Regions from separate parts of the Homo sapiens genome. Here region 2 is linked to region 1. The links are contacts of gene promoters, found by promoter capture Hi-C in blood cells and fetal thymus (Javierre and others, 2016). All regions are on one chromosome and are shown on one strand. Each heading gives the region's core, a stretch centred on a gene start or on the middle of the fragment in contact. The rest is flanking DNA. Distances are from core to core; before and after follow the strand shown.

Region 1 (6,946 bases), core at 150-2,649:
ATGGTTAACATAGGAACTTATCCATTAGGTATATTTTACCACATTTTGTAAAATACAAAAACAGGCCGGGCATGGTGGCTCATGCCTGTAATCCCAGCACTTTGGGAGGCCGAGGTGGGTGGATCACGAGGTCAGGAGTTAGAGACCAATCTGGCCAACATAGTGAAACCCCATCTCTACTAAAAATATAAAAAATAGCCAGGTATGGTGGCGTGGCCTGTAATCCCAGCTACTCGGGAGGCTGAGGCAGGAGAATGGCGTGAACCCGGAAGGAGGAGGTTGCAGTGAGCCGAGATCGCACCATTGCACTCCAGCCTGGGCGACAGTGTGAGACTCCGTCTCAAAAACAAACAGATAAACAAACAAACAAAAAACAAAGCAAAACAAACAAACAACAACAAAAAAAAACCAAAGTGCTTAATACAGTACCTGGCACATTTGAAGTGCTCATAAATGTTACCTAGTATTGTTAAGTAATGTTATTCTTAGTTGTAATAATGTTTATAAAAGTTACTGTAATACGGTGTCCTCTGTACTTTCATGAAGGGGAGTAAAAGGGCCTGAAAGGCAGCAGAGCAAGAAACCCAAGTAGTTCCTTTGTCGGGGGAGGTGGGAGGTGGGCAGGAAAGGTGTGGCAAGAGAAGGGTTCGTTGGGGAGGCTTCCTTAAGCAGAAACCACATGAGCTGGGAGGCCTTGGCAAAGATACCTCTTCAGTCTGAGCCAGTTTCTCACCTCGGATCTGGGAAGTTGGTTTTAGTTTTGCCGTGCCTGGGACATGCCCCTGGCTCCAGGCCAGCGCAACAGGGGTACTACCTCCATCCTCCCTAATCTGAAGTCCTGCATCTGAGGCAAAGTTGAGGCAGGGCTCGAGGGTGGGCGGAAGGGCCCAGGCCCGGAGGCCACTGACCCTTCTCACCTTGCCCAACTGCTCAGTGGAGAAACCGCAGCCCAGCGAGGCCGCCCCAACTCCTCCGTGTCCTCTTTTCTACTCTATCCTACCCTCCCTTCCCTGCCCCACCCGAGACGGTCAGGACCCTGGTGTCTGGACTTCCCGCTTTGTGTCACTCTCTAGGGTACTTGACCAAATCCTCCGTTAGACCCTCTCTTCCCGCCTCTCCCCACCACAGCAAACCAACAAAGCTTAACCCCATCATCCCCTAACCCAATAGTACCTCTGTAGGGCTGGGGCTGGGGCTGGGCTGGCGGCCTTCAGAGGGGGTCTCGGGGGGAGGCATGGTGGGCTCCTGGGGCCGGGCGGGGTCCTGCTGGGGCCTCGGAGATCGGGCGGGTGCAGGCTCCATGGACCCCAGCTTAGTTTCGATTCTCGGTTTAGATCTTGGAGTGCGTGAAGAGAAGCTGAAGGGGAGGCGTGAGCCAGTTGGCTGAGTCCCTTGAGCTGTCCGAAAGGGGAGGTGCCGGCTCAGGGCCCGCCTCTGGAGAGGAAGTGAGACAGAAGCTGGGGGCGGTTCTAGGGGGCAGAGAGGCCGACTGTGGGTTTTAAAGACACGCCCAGAGCGGGGAGGAGGTAGAGGCGGAGAGCTGCAGACCTACCGCTGACTTACGGTAAAGCGGGAGAGGTAGGGCAGAGCTGCAGGGGGGCAGCCCTGCTCCCGGCTTTGATCCATTCATCCGTTCACACTGGCACTGCTTCGTGCCACGTCCTGCCGGGAGCTGGGCGTACAAAGATGAGCCACACGCAGCCCCTGCTTTCTAAGAGCCGTAGATGTAATGGAAGAGCAAGCCTGCAAACGGAGACATTCTGGAAAGGAGAGCCCACAGCTGGGACCTGCAAAAGCAGTGGAAATTCACCAGGGATTTAGGGTTGTAGGTGGTGGGGTACGGGGGACACTTGAAACAGAAAAGATAGCTCTTGCAAAAGCCTGTTTGGGAACTAATTTTGGCCATTTTCAGATTTAAGAGGGAATTCATGAGAAATGATACCCAAGGAGTGTGCTAGGACAAGATCCTAGCTGAGGAGATTGAACCAGTTCTGTGAGTGATGGGAAGTTGCTGAAGGATTTGGAACCAGGGAACAACACGATCAGCTGTGCATGATGGGACAGTCACTCTGACAACCTAGGAGCAGGTGCCCTGGTCTAGGACAGTGGCTGTGGGATGCAGAGGAGGGACTTGATTCAGAGATCCTGGGAAGCCAGTGACTGGAGGTGAGGGAGCAGGATGATGCCTTGAGTGACAGCTGGAAAGGCTGGTGGATCTGAGGTGGTGGGGGCAGGAGGGAGGGGGAGAGCTGGAGAGCGGGTATGAAGAGGGTGAGGGGAGAGCCAGCTAGGTCTTCGCCAATGGAAAAGCATGTCAGACTCCCAGCTGGTAAGGGGAAAGGGGCACAGTTCCAGGTGACCTCACTGGGTCAGCGCCCCGGCTTCAAACTTAAACCATCGCAACCACTGTGCTGGCTCCTGTGTACCCATTCCGTACTCTGTTCCAACTTAGAAACAGACTAGAAAGGATGATGATAGGGCCTGGCTCTTGTAAACCTTACAGTCTGCAGGGTGGAGAGCAGGGGTTGGGCAGATACGCAACTTCCTAGGGACTGTAAGGCCTCAGGAGCCTGCCCTTCCCTCCAGCCTGGTCAGTACTCCCAGGCCTTTAGAGAATCAGTCCATGAAAGCCAAATATGGTGGGCAGCCATCTGCACAAGGGACCTGGAAGTGGGCTATGGCAGGATGGGGCTTCGGAGGCCAGAGGCGATTGGCTGAGGAGGCAGAGCTGGGGAAGCTTTATTCATTTCTTTGCTTGCTTTGGAAGATAGCCTGCTCCCAGACTACCCCAAAGTCCTGTTGGAAGTTAACACTTCTCAAAGGAAATTCACGAGTTGCATTCAGGTTTTCTCAAGCCCTGGAGAGGCAAGTTAATTCCAGGTACCTGGATCAAGGGGCATGCTCTTTCTGGACCTGCAGGACTGAGGGCCTCACCTCTGTGGTGCTCTGGGGCCCCTGCCCTCATGTAGCTCTGTGCTATCCCCTTCTTCCTTACACTCCCATGCTCCCCGAAGTCTGCATGTGAAACTTCTTTCTTTTTGTGCCAAAGTTCAGGCCTTCCTACTCCACCTTGATCACGGTGACCTGGCCAGGCCATTACTTAACAAATAAGTATTGAGACCTGCCCTATGCCAGTCCCTGCTTGCTGGGCTGTGGGTTCACAAAGAGGAATAATTTGCAGACTATGTCCCAGAGAAACCCAAAGTCCAGATATGGCATGTCCTGCCTCCAGTGTGAGAGAAGGAGTGCTGAGAAGGCTGATATAGCATGTCCTTGATCCTGGAGAAGATTGGCTTCCTGTAAACCCTGATGAGATCTTGCTCTCTCGCTCCGACTGCAGTGCAGTGGCACGATCATAGCTCACTGCAGCCTCAAACTCCTGGACTCAAGAGATCCTCCCGCCTCAGCCTCCCAAGTGGCTGGGACCACAGGCAGGCATCCCACGCCAGGCTAATTTTTAAAAATTTTTTGTAGAGATGGGCTCTCACTATGTTGCTCAGGATGGTCCTGAATTCCTGGCCTCAAGCGATCCTCCTGCCTGAGTCTCCCAAATTGATGGATTATAGGAGTGAGCCACCGTGCCCAGCTTCCCCTCCAGCTTTTCTAGGGCTGAGTAGGAGAAGAGGGGAGGAGGCGATGACCCCAGCGGGGTCCGAGGAACGCCGATCACACCCAGTAGCCCTGGGCTGCAGTTCGGTCCTCCCAGCGCAGGGGGAGCCATGCGACGGCGGAAGCGGGCCCCGGCCGGCCTCCTCTTCCTGCGCCCGCGCCGCCGCGGGTGGCCGCGCGGGTGAAGCCGGAAGCAGCAGCCAGGAGGGCGGGGCCGCGTAGGGCCCACTGGCCAGGGAGGGCGCCGCGCGGAGGCGCGGGGCGTGTCTCCTGTCAAAAGCCATGCTCGGCAGGTCTGGGTACCGGGCGCTGCCCCTGGGTGATTTTGACCGCTTCCAGCAGTCGAGCTTCGGCTTTCTGGGCTCGCAGAAGGGCTGCTTGTCCCCGGAGCGGGGCGGCGTGGGGACAGGGGCCGGTGAGTGGCCGCCTGGCACGGCGGAGCCGGGGGGGACCGGCCGGCAACCCCCAGGCCCGAATCTCTGCCTCCGAGGAGTCGGCCGGCCCGGTGCCGTCGCACCCTACGAGGGGGGACTGAGAAAGGGATACGATGTGGAGAGGGGGCTGGACCCGGCGCCTGGTGCTAGCGCCGATCCGCCCTCCCTAGGGTCATGGGGCTTTGGCCCCAGAGCCAGCCAGCGTTGCTCCTATCTTCCAAAACCTCACCTCACCACATTTGTCCTCGGCTCTTATCAGCCCTTTAGGCCTGGGAAGACGTTTCAGGTTTCTATTTCGCATAGAAGAAACCGAGGTCTAGGCAGAGGAGGCCACCAGCACCCTAAAGGCACCTGCTGCAGGGAAATGGAAGAATTTTCGCCCTAGGGGGCACCTCTAGAAGCCCGGGAACTAGGCATCTCCTGGATGTGCAGGCCAAAATGACAGGTCCTCAGCTGCCTGTTGGATCTGCCCTGCTTCTGTCTTGCCCTCAAAGTCTTCTGTGGCTCCTTTGGCCTACAGGCCAGATCCCACGCTGTTCAGCCTAACCGCCTAACCTTGGATTTGATCCCTCCCTGGCCTTCCTGTCCTGAAAGCTCTCCCTATCCAGAAGTCTCTTGAGAGGCCTGGTGGATCAGAGCCAGGCACAAAGTGGAGCCTCAGTGCTCTGGGGCTTAGCCCAGAGGGCAGGGCTTCCTGGAAGAATGGAGCAGGGCTCCCGACTGCTTCCTGTCCAGGGTTGGGAGGAAAGCGGCAAATAACCTCATCCCAGATTCTGGAGCTGTCTCGGCTTTGCTCCCAACTTGGGCTCCTGAATCTCCAGGGGCCAGGACATTTGGCTTGGATAAGCCTCATCTTTCTAGCCCTGCCCCTGACCCCGACCCCTAACAATTTTCTTGAATTGAAATAGGCAGGGTTTTTTTTTGTTTTTGTTTTTTGTTGTTTGTTGTTTTTTTGAGATGGAGTCTCGCTCTGTCCCCCAGGCTGGAGTGCAGTGGCGCCATCTCGTGAAATAGGCATTTTTTAATGGTCATTAAGGCATTAAAGTTGGGTGTGGAATAGAAAATAATAATCTAATTCCTCATCTGTGGCTCCCGTTGATAAGCTATTTATGATTTATCCCTGTAGGCTAAGGCATCATCTTCATAAGGACTCCTGGAAAGCACACTTCTGGGGCTGATGGTATAGGAGGAATGTGTTTTGCCAGCAGTATTCAGTGCATGTTTACAGATGCCCAGGTGCTCCTGGCTCCATGCCAGGTATGGGTAGGCAATATAAATTAAACGAGAGGATTGACCCCTACTCAGTCCAGTGAGGAGAGCATCATCACGCGGACTGGATTCTGAGATTGAATGGCTGTTGCCTAGCAGAGAATAAGGCCTTGTGAGGGTTGTTGGACTTGGGACAAATGAGTGTTGATGTATGGGAGGAGGGAACAGACCCTAACTTGCAGCTGCCCAAAGATACGGGAATATTAGGCAAGGAGCCAGATTGAGAGCCCTGAGAAGGAAGGAGCCTCTCGAGGGGAAGGTGGGCGTAAGGTACACTTGCCCAAGTTCACTCCGCTTGGCAGCTGTCGTGCAGGTCCAGTTGACCACCTCTGCTCTCACCTGCAGATGTACCCCAGAGCTGGCCCTCCTGCCTCTGTCATGGCCTCATCAGTTTCCTGGGGTTCTTGCTGCTGTTGGTCACCTTCCCCATTTCTGGCTGGTTTGCCCTGAAGGTAAGGCTGGCTGGGTCAGCCCCCAGGGTGGTTGGGCCACACTGAGAGCTTTGGCATTGATGAATAAATTTGCCTATCCTCTGTCCCCTTTCCCTAAATATTATTACCCCTTTGTGTAATGGGCTAGGCAAGAACCATTCATTCACATTGGTCAGGGGAGGAAACTAAGGCTTGGGCTTGTCTAAAGTCATACTGGGAGCCAGTAGGGGGTAGAAGCAAGTCCCAAACTCCTAAGTCCTGGGATCTGGACACTGGCTTTAAGGTACACGCAGATGTCTTTGCCAAATTATCTTCTCTTTGGGTTAGAATAAATTAGAAATGAAAACACCCAACTTAGCCCAGCTGGTAGTGCATAATAGGAATTCAGGCCTCATTTTCCATAAGGGGTGGTACAGTGGGAAAAGGATGAACCATGGAGCTATAGTTCAGCATCGCACGTGAAAGCTGGGGGAAGGTGGAAGCCCAAGGAGGCCTTGCCCTTTGTGTAGCCCTAGGCAACAGTCCCTCTCTAGAAAACCTCTGGGTTTGGTGTGGTCTGCAAGGGGGTCCTTAAATGGCCTTATATCCTAGTTCTAAAACTGCCACAGAAACAAATGCCATGTGACCTTGAACAGGTTTCTTTGCCTCTCTGGGCCTTCATTTCTCAATTTGGACATCACTACTTCTCTAGGAGGTCCAGGGACCTAAAGTTGACAAAGCCCTTTCCCCGGGGGTGCTGTTAGGGCAGCCGAGCCTTTTCTCCTAACTAATCCAAGGACAGACAGTTTCCTGGTATGAGTCATGTCTAACTTCAGACCACAGAGATGAAAAGTTTCTCTAAGGATCAAGTCAATACAGTGCAGTAGTTAAGACACATGGCCTTTGGAGTTATTCAGAACTGCATTCAAATCTTCACTATTTCACTTAGGGCTATGCAATTTTTGAGCAGTCACTTAGCTTCCCTGAGCCTTGGTTTTCTCATCTGGAAACAGTGCTAGGGATACCTAACTGTGACCCAGGTGAGGAGGAGAGAAGTGAGGAAGGGACCTAGGCAGACAGCATTGGCCAGCCTAGGCTGACCACTTTCAACTCTTTCCCTTGCCATTGTGGACAGATTGTGCCCACCTACGAGCGGATGATTGTGTTCCGCCTGGGCCGGATCCGCACCCCCCAGGGACCTGGCATGGTTCTGCTCTTGCCCTT
Region 2 (7,542 bases), core at 3,492-5,991, 1.2 Mb before region 1:
GAAAAACTAGAGGGGGCCTCAGGCTGCAATGCCAGGTGTACTGACGCAGGAGGGGCAATAACAGAATCCACTTGGTCCCATCACCAGATCCCTAGCTGAAGAAGTGTGATCATACACGCCACACAACACTTCGGCAGTTGTGTGGTCCTCCAGGACATTAAAAGAAAACAAGCTGGAGAACAGCAGGCACATCATTTAGTAGAGGAAAAGCAAACCACAAAACAATGCGACTTATGCGCACACTTCTGTGTATGTAAGGGCCGGGGAGGACTGCAAAACTACACGTTCAAAAAGGCAGCTGTGGCCCTCACCAGGTCTAGAGCATGAGGAGCTTTGTGAAAGGGGGTGCCCTTCACTGACATGGAAAAGAACTGGTTGTGGGAAGTGAGCTGAGGGGAAGGCTCGGGAGTGTGATTTGGGATGAGTTCAGTGTGGGAGAGAGACCCAGGGGCTGAGGCCCAGCATGCAGTGGGTTATTTAGGGCTAGAGCTCACAAAGGGGATGCTAGGCTGGAGATCAGGGAAATTATCTCAGCTAGAAAACAGGGCCTAACCAGAGTGCCGGAAACACTGCACCAAAGATGGAGAAGGCACAGGCAGAGGAGGAGGGAATCCAAGAAGGTGCAGCACCAGGGGAGGCCGAGGAGTTTCCATGGGGACAGAGCAGCTGGCATGTTCAGAAGCCTACAAAAGAGGCTATGAAGGTGCTCACTGATTGTCTGGAGGGTCAAGGGGTGGGGGTACCTAGAGCTCATCCTAAAGCCCCCTACCCGGGCAGGAGTCCTTGGAATCACTCAGCCCCAGCTGTGACGCACTCACACAGCACACACACCTGTCACTTGCTCACACAGCTCCGGTGGCCACTGGGGCTGCCCCATGCTCACCCAGCTGGCGGCGTACACAGTCGCGCCACTGCAGGCCGAGAAGGTCGGGGTAAATGTCCGGCAGCTGGCGCAGCGCCAGTAACTTCAGCATGCGTGAGGTGCAGCCTGGCAGGGCGAGCTCCCGCAGTGCCCGCTCCTCCGACAGCGTGGTGGGCCGCAGCTCCACACGATGCTCCTGCAGCACATGGTCCACAGAAGCGGGTGGCAGCCGAGGGAAGAGCCGCTCCTTCACCAGGTGAATGGGCACGAAGATGGCGCCAGCTCGCACCACATGGGGGAAGGGGCACCGGTGGGTGCGATCGAAGCGCTGCAGCTGAGACAGCAGCTTGGCCAGCAGCCCCTGCACACCCTGGCAGTCCTGCCACGCAGCCTGGCCCCAGGGCCCAGCCGTCTCTAGCCACTCGCGAAGCTTCTCTGGAGGAGAGTGGGCGACGGAGCCAGAAATAGCATCACACAGGGACGCATGTAGTCCTGTAAAATGCTGCTCCAGGGAGTCCCCTGGGGCTGAAGTAGATGCTGGAGCAGGGCCTGCAACTGGAGCTGGAGCTGGAGCTGGATCCCGGGCTGAAGCTGGAGCCTGAGCTCGAGCCGGAGCAGGGGATGGAGCTGGAGCAGGGGCAGGGGAGGCCACAGCTACGGCTGGAGGGCTGGGCAGTGCCAGGCTGAAGCAGGTCACAGACAAGGGCTGTTGAGCGAGAATCCGCAGTCCAATGGGCCCAGATGTGGGGGTGGGTGCAGGCTGTGTGGGAGCAGGAGCTGAGGTGGGCGTGGACGGGACCACGGCTGCAGGCAAAGGTGCCGGACGGAGGATCTTGAACTTTCGGAACATGAAGGCCACAGAGCTGTGGAAGTTGGTCCTTGGCATGGCATCTGTGGTCACTGGCACCCCAGGCAAGCCTGGTGCTTCTGTGTCTATCTTTTTCAGGCCTGGCAGATCTGACACCATGTTGCCCACATCTGGCACATCCATGGCTGCAGTAGGCTTGGCATGCTCCACAGAACGGGAAGCCTTGACAGGGGAGGCCTCTGCTGTGGGCTTCCTCACACTCAAATCCAGGGCTACCTCCTCCTTAAGTGAGCCCCTTAGGGGTTTACTCCCTGAGGGGCCCTCCTGGGCAGGCAGGGTCCCCCTGCAGCCTTTGTCCTGACCTTCACTGGTGGCTGGGGCTGAGTCAGGCTCAGCTGTGGCAGAGTCAGGCTCAGTTGTGGCCTCGGGTGCCGGCACATCCAGATAGTCACGGTAGGGGGCCAGGCTGAAGACATTGTCAATGACAGGCATTGGTGGAGAGCTGGGTGGCCTTGCGCCCTCCTTCTGTGGAAGAGACTGGCACTCCCGGGCACAGGGGGGCAGTGCTGGGGGGGTACAGGGAACTGGACTGTCTCGGATGACGATGGGCGGCCCAGAGTGCTCACTGAGCCGGGGCTGGAGCTTCTCTTTCCTGCAGCTGGGCAGCCAGGTCTTCTCTTCGGCTTCCTGTGCAGGCCTCACAGGCTCTGAGCAGGGCTGGCTCGCTGGCAAAGGCTGGCATGCCCTCTGGAAGGCACCAGGCTGTGGCACAGCCCGCACATTGTTCTGGGAAGGTGGTGTCCCTCCAAGCCCAGGGGATGCTCCATAGAGAGAGAGGTCATCCCGGGCATAAGGAAAACTCAGTGTCTGGGGGGCAAAGTCCAATGGGCACCGTGGAGTGAGAGGCGGCTCCAGCTTGAGGCCTGGAGAGGGTGCTGGGAGAGGGGCAGAGGGGTAGGGGTAAGCGTCCAGCCCCAGTGGGGGAATGTAAGGTGCCTGGGCTGCCTGCTGCCTCAGGTAGGGGCTGCCCAGCCCACCAGCCTGGTACCCGGTCCCCTTGTGGCCCCCCAGAGGCTGCAGTGGGAGTGCTGGGCTGTAGCTGCCCTGCTTCTCTGGGTGGCGACAGGCTGGAGGGCAAGGCAGGGCCTGTGGAGGGTGGGGTGGTGGGTGGTGGGGTGGTGGGTAGTGGGTGGGCCCGGTGTCCTGACAGGGTGGCCCCAGGGGCTGGGCCAGCTGGGTCCAAGGACTTGAGGGCCCCTCAGACATTGCTTGCTTGGAGTTCCTAGGGTAAGGACCTGTGTACCTGGAGGCCAGGAAGCCCGTGCTGTGGATGGTCTGATATTTCTCCAGGAAGGGCTGGCATGGGGAGAAGCTCCCTGAGGAGTCTTTACTGGACCCCTCAGCTGGCACCCCCCGCAAGAAGGTGCCATCCAGAGTCTGGCCCTTGCTAGGAGCTGGGGCCAGAGAGCAGGGTGGGTCAGCTGAGGGCAACAGGGGCCCAGTCGCCAGAGTCCAGTCAACATCCAGTGGCCTCTTCACTGCTCCTTCCCCCAGACAAGTTGAGAGCCCATAGCACAGAGGGTTGCGGTAGACAGGTTTGGGTGCTGCCAGTGGTGGGCCTGGGTAGGAGTGAGCCTGGGGACTGAAGGGCAGGAGCTCAACAGGGCTGGAGTCCTGCATCTTCTCAGGGCCTTCTGCTGGCGAGCGGTAGAACAGGCAGTTGGTCAGCAGGTTGTCTGCCTGAAGTGGGGGTCCTGCCATACCGGTAGAGTACAAGGGTGGGTATGGGGTCCAGGACGCCAACTGCTCAGACTCGGCCTTAGGAGTACCTGCCATGGGGCAGGAGAAGTAGGACCCCTTGTAGGTGCAGGGATCCTGGTTACCAACAGAGTGGGGCAGGCTGTGCTCGAGCCCGGAGTCTGTCTCTAAGCGGGGCAGCTTGCCATACATCACAGGCCCCAGGGTTCTCAGGGGTCGCTTCTCTGCCATCGCTGTGAAGGCTTCGAGCCCTCCTAGGCCCCTGCTACTCAACTTCTGACCTGGGATAGAGAGAGAAAGGCAGGGGCTGTCAGGAAAACAGGCTACAGGCAAAGCAACAGAGGGCTGCTGCTCTCATCAGCTCACGGCTACACCTAAGAACCTGGCGCTTAAATGATGCTCAGTTAAGACTGTGAGTGCATGAGCCACGTGACAGAGGTTTCCAACTCGTGTATGTATTTTTTGAGGCAGGGTCTCACTCTGTTGCCCGGGCTGGAGTGCAATGACATGAACTTGGCTCACCGCAGTCTCAACCTCCTGGGCTCAAGTGATTCTCCCAACTCCCAGGTTGCTGGGACCACAGGTGCCTGCTACCACACCCGGCTCATTTTAGTATTTTATGTAGAAACAGGGTCTTACTATGTTACCCAGGCTGGTCTTGAACTCCTGGACTCATGTGATCCTCCCATCTTGGCCTCCCAAAATGCTGAAATCACAGGCATGAACCACCTACTGCTCCTGACCCCAACTCGTATATTTTAAGCTGCAGAACCCTTTGTTTAATGAATTATTCTACACAGAACCCCCACCCATCCCCACTCCAGGAGCCCCTTCTGTTCGATTTTCCTCCATACAACTCCCAAGATCCCCTCCTTCTTGGGATTTCAGAATTTGTAGGGGCACTGGGTCTCAGGGTCACTTGACATACCCTGCCGCCACCCCCTCATATACAGATGAGGAGACCCATTCATCCCAAAGTCACCAATGAAATAGACACAACGAGAAGCAGGCCTCCTGCCTCCCACCACAGGGTCCTATTCCAAGATGCCACAGTGATGCCCACTGCAGCCAAAACATGGAATCTGAGTATTGTCTACAAATTCACAGATTTCTTGTGACACTCCTCTGACCTGCTGATCTTGTCAAAAATGGCAGAGTCGGGCCTCCAGCCCAGGTCCCTAGGCCCAAAGCCAATGCTGAGATACTGGACTTGGCTCTGGAGAGCAGTCCCCTAGGAGAGGTAACTGGGGACATCAGTCTGTACAAGCCACACCCCTCTCGCCCCACTCCTCCCCCTCCGCAGGAGTCAGGGCAGCCCAGCAGATGGTGCTGCAGCACCAGCAGGAAGGTCCCAGAGCATGAGGAGCCTGGATCCACCCCCAGCCCCCAAGCTGCAGATGGCGATTCCTAGGCACATGGCAGGGTGGGGCCAAGACAGCGTCAGGGGCGTGTGTGAAAGTCCAGGGAGGTGGCTAGGTGCTGTGGCTCACACCTGTAATCCCAGCACTTTGGGAAGCCGAGGTGTGCGGATCATTTGAGGTCAGGAGTTCAAGACCAACCTGACCAACATGGTGAAACGCTGTCTCTACTAAAAATACAAAAAAATTAGCCAGGCATGGTTGTGCATGCCTGTAATCCCAGCTACGCTGAAGGCTGAGGCAGGAGAATTGCGTGAACTCAGGAGGCAGAGGTTGCAGTGAGCCAAGATTGTGCTACTGCACTTCCAGCCTGGGCAGCAGAGTGAGACTCCACCTCAAAAAAACACAAAAAACAAAAAACAAAACAAAAAAAAAGAAAAGAAAAGAAAAGAAAAAAGTCCAGGGAGGGAGGCCCCAGGGGCCAGAGTGCTACTTAGCCACTACTCCCATTGTATTGATGGAAAAACTATGTGCTGAAAAAAGACAAAGCTCTAAGACAAGACCAAGGAAGGATGGGGACTGAGGCCCCTCAGGGCAGCAGGCACCCAGTAACCCGTTAGGGGCTCATCTGAAGCCTGTCTTCTGGGGCCACACTGACCTACCTCTACCTCCCCCAGCCAGCACCCTATTCCTGGAAACTCTCAGTAGCTTAGAAAGGACCACCTAGCTCAATCTTGCTATGATTAGGGCAAAGTGTCACAGGTTTCAGTGACTGGCAAGCAAGGACCAGCCCTCTCCTTGCCTCTTCTGGTTGGAGCCAATGACAGCCACAGGCTGAGTTAGACCGGCACATTTTGGGGTTAGAAAACACAAGGCTAGTGTGGGGGCCAATGCCCACTTCCACCAAGGCAGACCCAGAAAGCAAGCTGGTTCATCTCCTGGACAGAACCCCACACCTCAGGCCAGCCTAGAGAAGACACAGAGGGGCCATTAGGACACAGGTGACAGTCCCAACAGCAGTGTCCTATGATAGAAACCTGCTATCGAGGGGTGAAAGCCCCCATCTCACTCCACAGCAATGCTGTGAGAAGGAACTGTAGGGTTTTGAAGTGTGGATCCTCCCCACCTCCACCCTTGGGACACTCTGGGTTAAGTACTGACTTTGGTCTCACCTCCCCCACATGCTTCTTGGGGTCTGCTGGGTCCCCACCCCCACCCCAGGAGTCCCTCTCTCCTGGGTCTCAGCCCATGGAATACCCTTTGCTCTGGAGACTTCTTGAGGCCCCTATCTGGGACCCAGTCAATAGACAGGAAACCACCTGGGACCCTCAGGAGTCTTTGTGGGAGGGGTGGCGGCTTCAGGGAGCCAACAGAGAACTCTTAGGGGTGTGGGAATGACCTGATCTCCTGCCAGTAGGAGGTGGAAAGCCCAGGATACACTCTCTCAAGGGAGACGACTCCTCCACTCAAGACAGTTGCCAAAATGTAGGTGCCTCCTTCCCTGACCCATACTGAGGCAAGCAAGCTCTCGGAAAGGGCAGGTGCCCAGGGAGCAGGCTCAGATCATCCTTGAGAGGCAGCTCTGTTGATCCTCTCTGCCAAGCTCCAACGTCACTCAGCCAGCACCCAGGCCAGGGTCCCGGAGAAGAGCCCACCACCGCAGCACCGCCCCTGCCTTACGCAGTGGGAAAGGAAACAGCTCTCTGTTCCCACTTTCACCTTCTAGGGGCCTCGGGATGGCCGATGGCAAAGACCAGGAAGAAGAGCGCGATTCCTGCCCAATTGTGGCCAGCATCTGGATTCTCCCGGAGGGCTGGATCGGGCCTCGCCGAGTGTTCTCCCATCTCCCACCTTCCCTACCTGAGGCTCTGGGCTCTCCAGACGCTACAACCCAACCTGGGGCAGCCCAAAGTCTCCAGTGGAGGGGAAAGCGAACGGGATCGGTCTCTATCCCCTTTCCCCTACCCGCCCTGAACATAACTCGGGTGCCTAGGGCCCACAGCCGATTTCGCTTAGAGGCTGCCGCCGCACCCGACCTGGCGGGCTTCCGGGTGTCCCCAAGCCCCTCCCGGCGGCGCCGAGACGCACGTGCATCCAGCAGGCTGACACACAGGCCGCCGCCACGCATGCAAACCCGTGCCTGCACGTACGTGCATGGCCCACATCTGCACACACGCCATTCCAGAACTGCGCTCTCCCCTCGCTCGGGCCCCGGGCATACGTGTGCACGCAGGCAGGCCCGCGCACCCAGCCCCACACCGACGCCCGCGGACCGGCGGGAGGTCCCGGAACAGGGGCGGCCCGGCGACAGGGTCCGGGCAGCCTCCGCCTCAGGGCGATCCTGCCAGCCTGGGCTGAGGCCAGAGGGGTGAGTCAAGAGGTGGCGAGAAAACCGCAGGGCCGTCCCATCCCAGCAGGGCGCGTCCAGGGCCCCGCGGTGCCTCAGCGCCCGGCGCCCCCAGGCCCAGCCCTCCAGTGCCCCCTTGTCCCCATACCTCCTCCTCAACGCCATCCCCCAGCAATCCACGTGACAGGGTCCTGCGGGAGGCCGGAGGGCTCGGCCTGAGTTCCTTCTCGCCAGATTAGGCGCCTGTTCTCCGCCGGAGACCCAGAGCGCTACCAGGTCCCGGGAGCCTCGAAGTCCGGGGAAAGTCGGAGCAGCAGCGCCACCCCTGCCCCGCAGCCCGTTCGCGGGGGGCCGGCGGCAGCCAGAAGCCGCAGCCCCTCGGCCCAGGCGCGGCTCCCTCAGTCCCCGG

The links. The method cuts DNA at HindIII sites, captures the fragments that hold promoters and counts their contacts. A CHiCAGO score of 5 or more calls a contact.
Region 2: a fragment that was not itself captured here is called in contact with the fragment with the promoter of PML in region 1 in 1 of 17 cell types (total CD4 T cells); the score reaches 7.2 in total CD4 T cells.

Annotation. Positions count from the first base shown.
Region 1 is chr15:73,989,169-73,996,114 of GRCh38, reverse strand. PML (PML nuclear body scaffold) reads right to left here and starts at 1,399. Exons shown (of 9, transcript NM_033238.3): 1 at 1,174-1,399. The coding sequence starts at 1,302. STOML1 (stomatin like 1) reads left to right here and starts at 3,820. Exons shown (of 7, transcript NM_004809.5): 1 at 3,820-4,024; 2 at 5,658-5,764; 3 at 6,858-6,946. The coding sequence starts at 3,892. RefSeq lists enhancers at 817-986, 4,284-4,353, 4,414-4,543 and a silencer at 3,594-4,153. The HindIII fragment of the contact is 1,596 bases long and covers 1,144-2,739 here.
Region 2 is chr15:75,202,166-75,209,707 of GRCh38, reverse strand. It overlaps C15orf39 (chromosome 15 open reading frame 39), which reads right to left. Exons shown (of 3, transcript NM_015492.5): 2 at 884-3,709. The coding sequence starts at 3,659. Among named protein-coding and RNA genes, the nearest start is that of C15orf39, 4.1 kb to the right of the region's middle. RefSeq lists enhancers at 2,384-2,433, 7,501-7,542 and silencers at 6,690-6,739, 6,860-7,542. The HindIII fragment of the contact is 6,893 bases long and covers 1,295-7,542 here.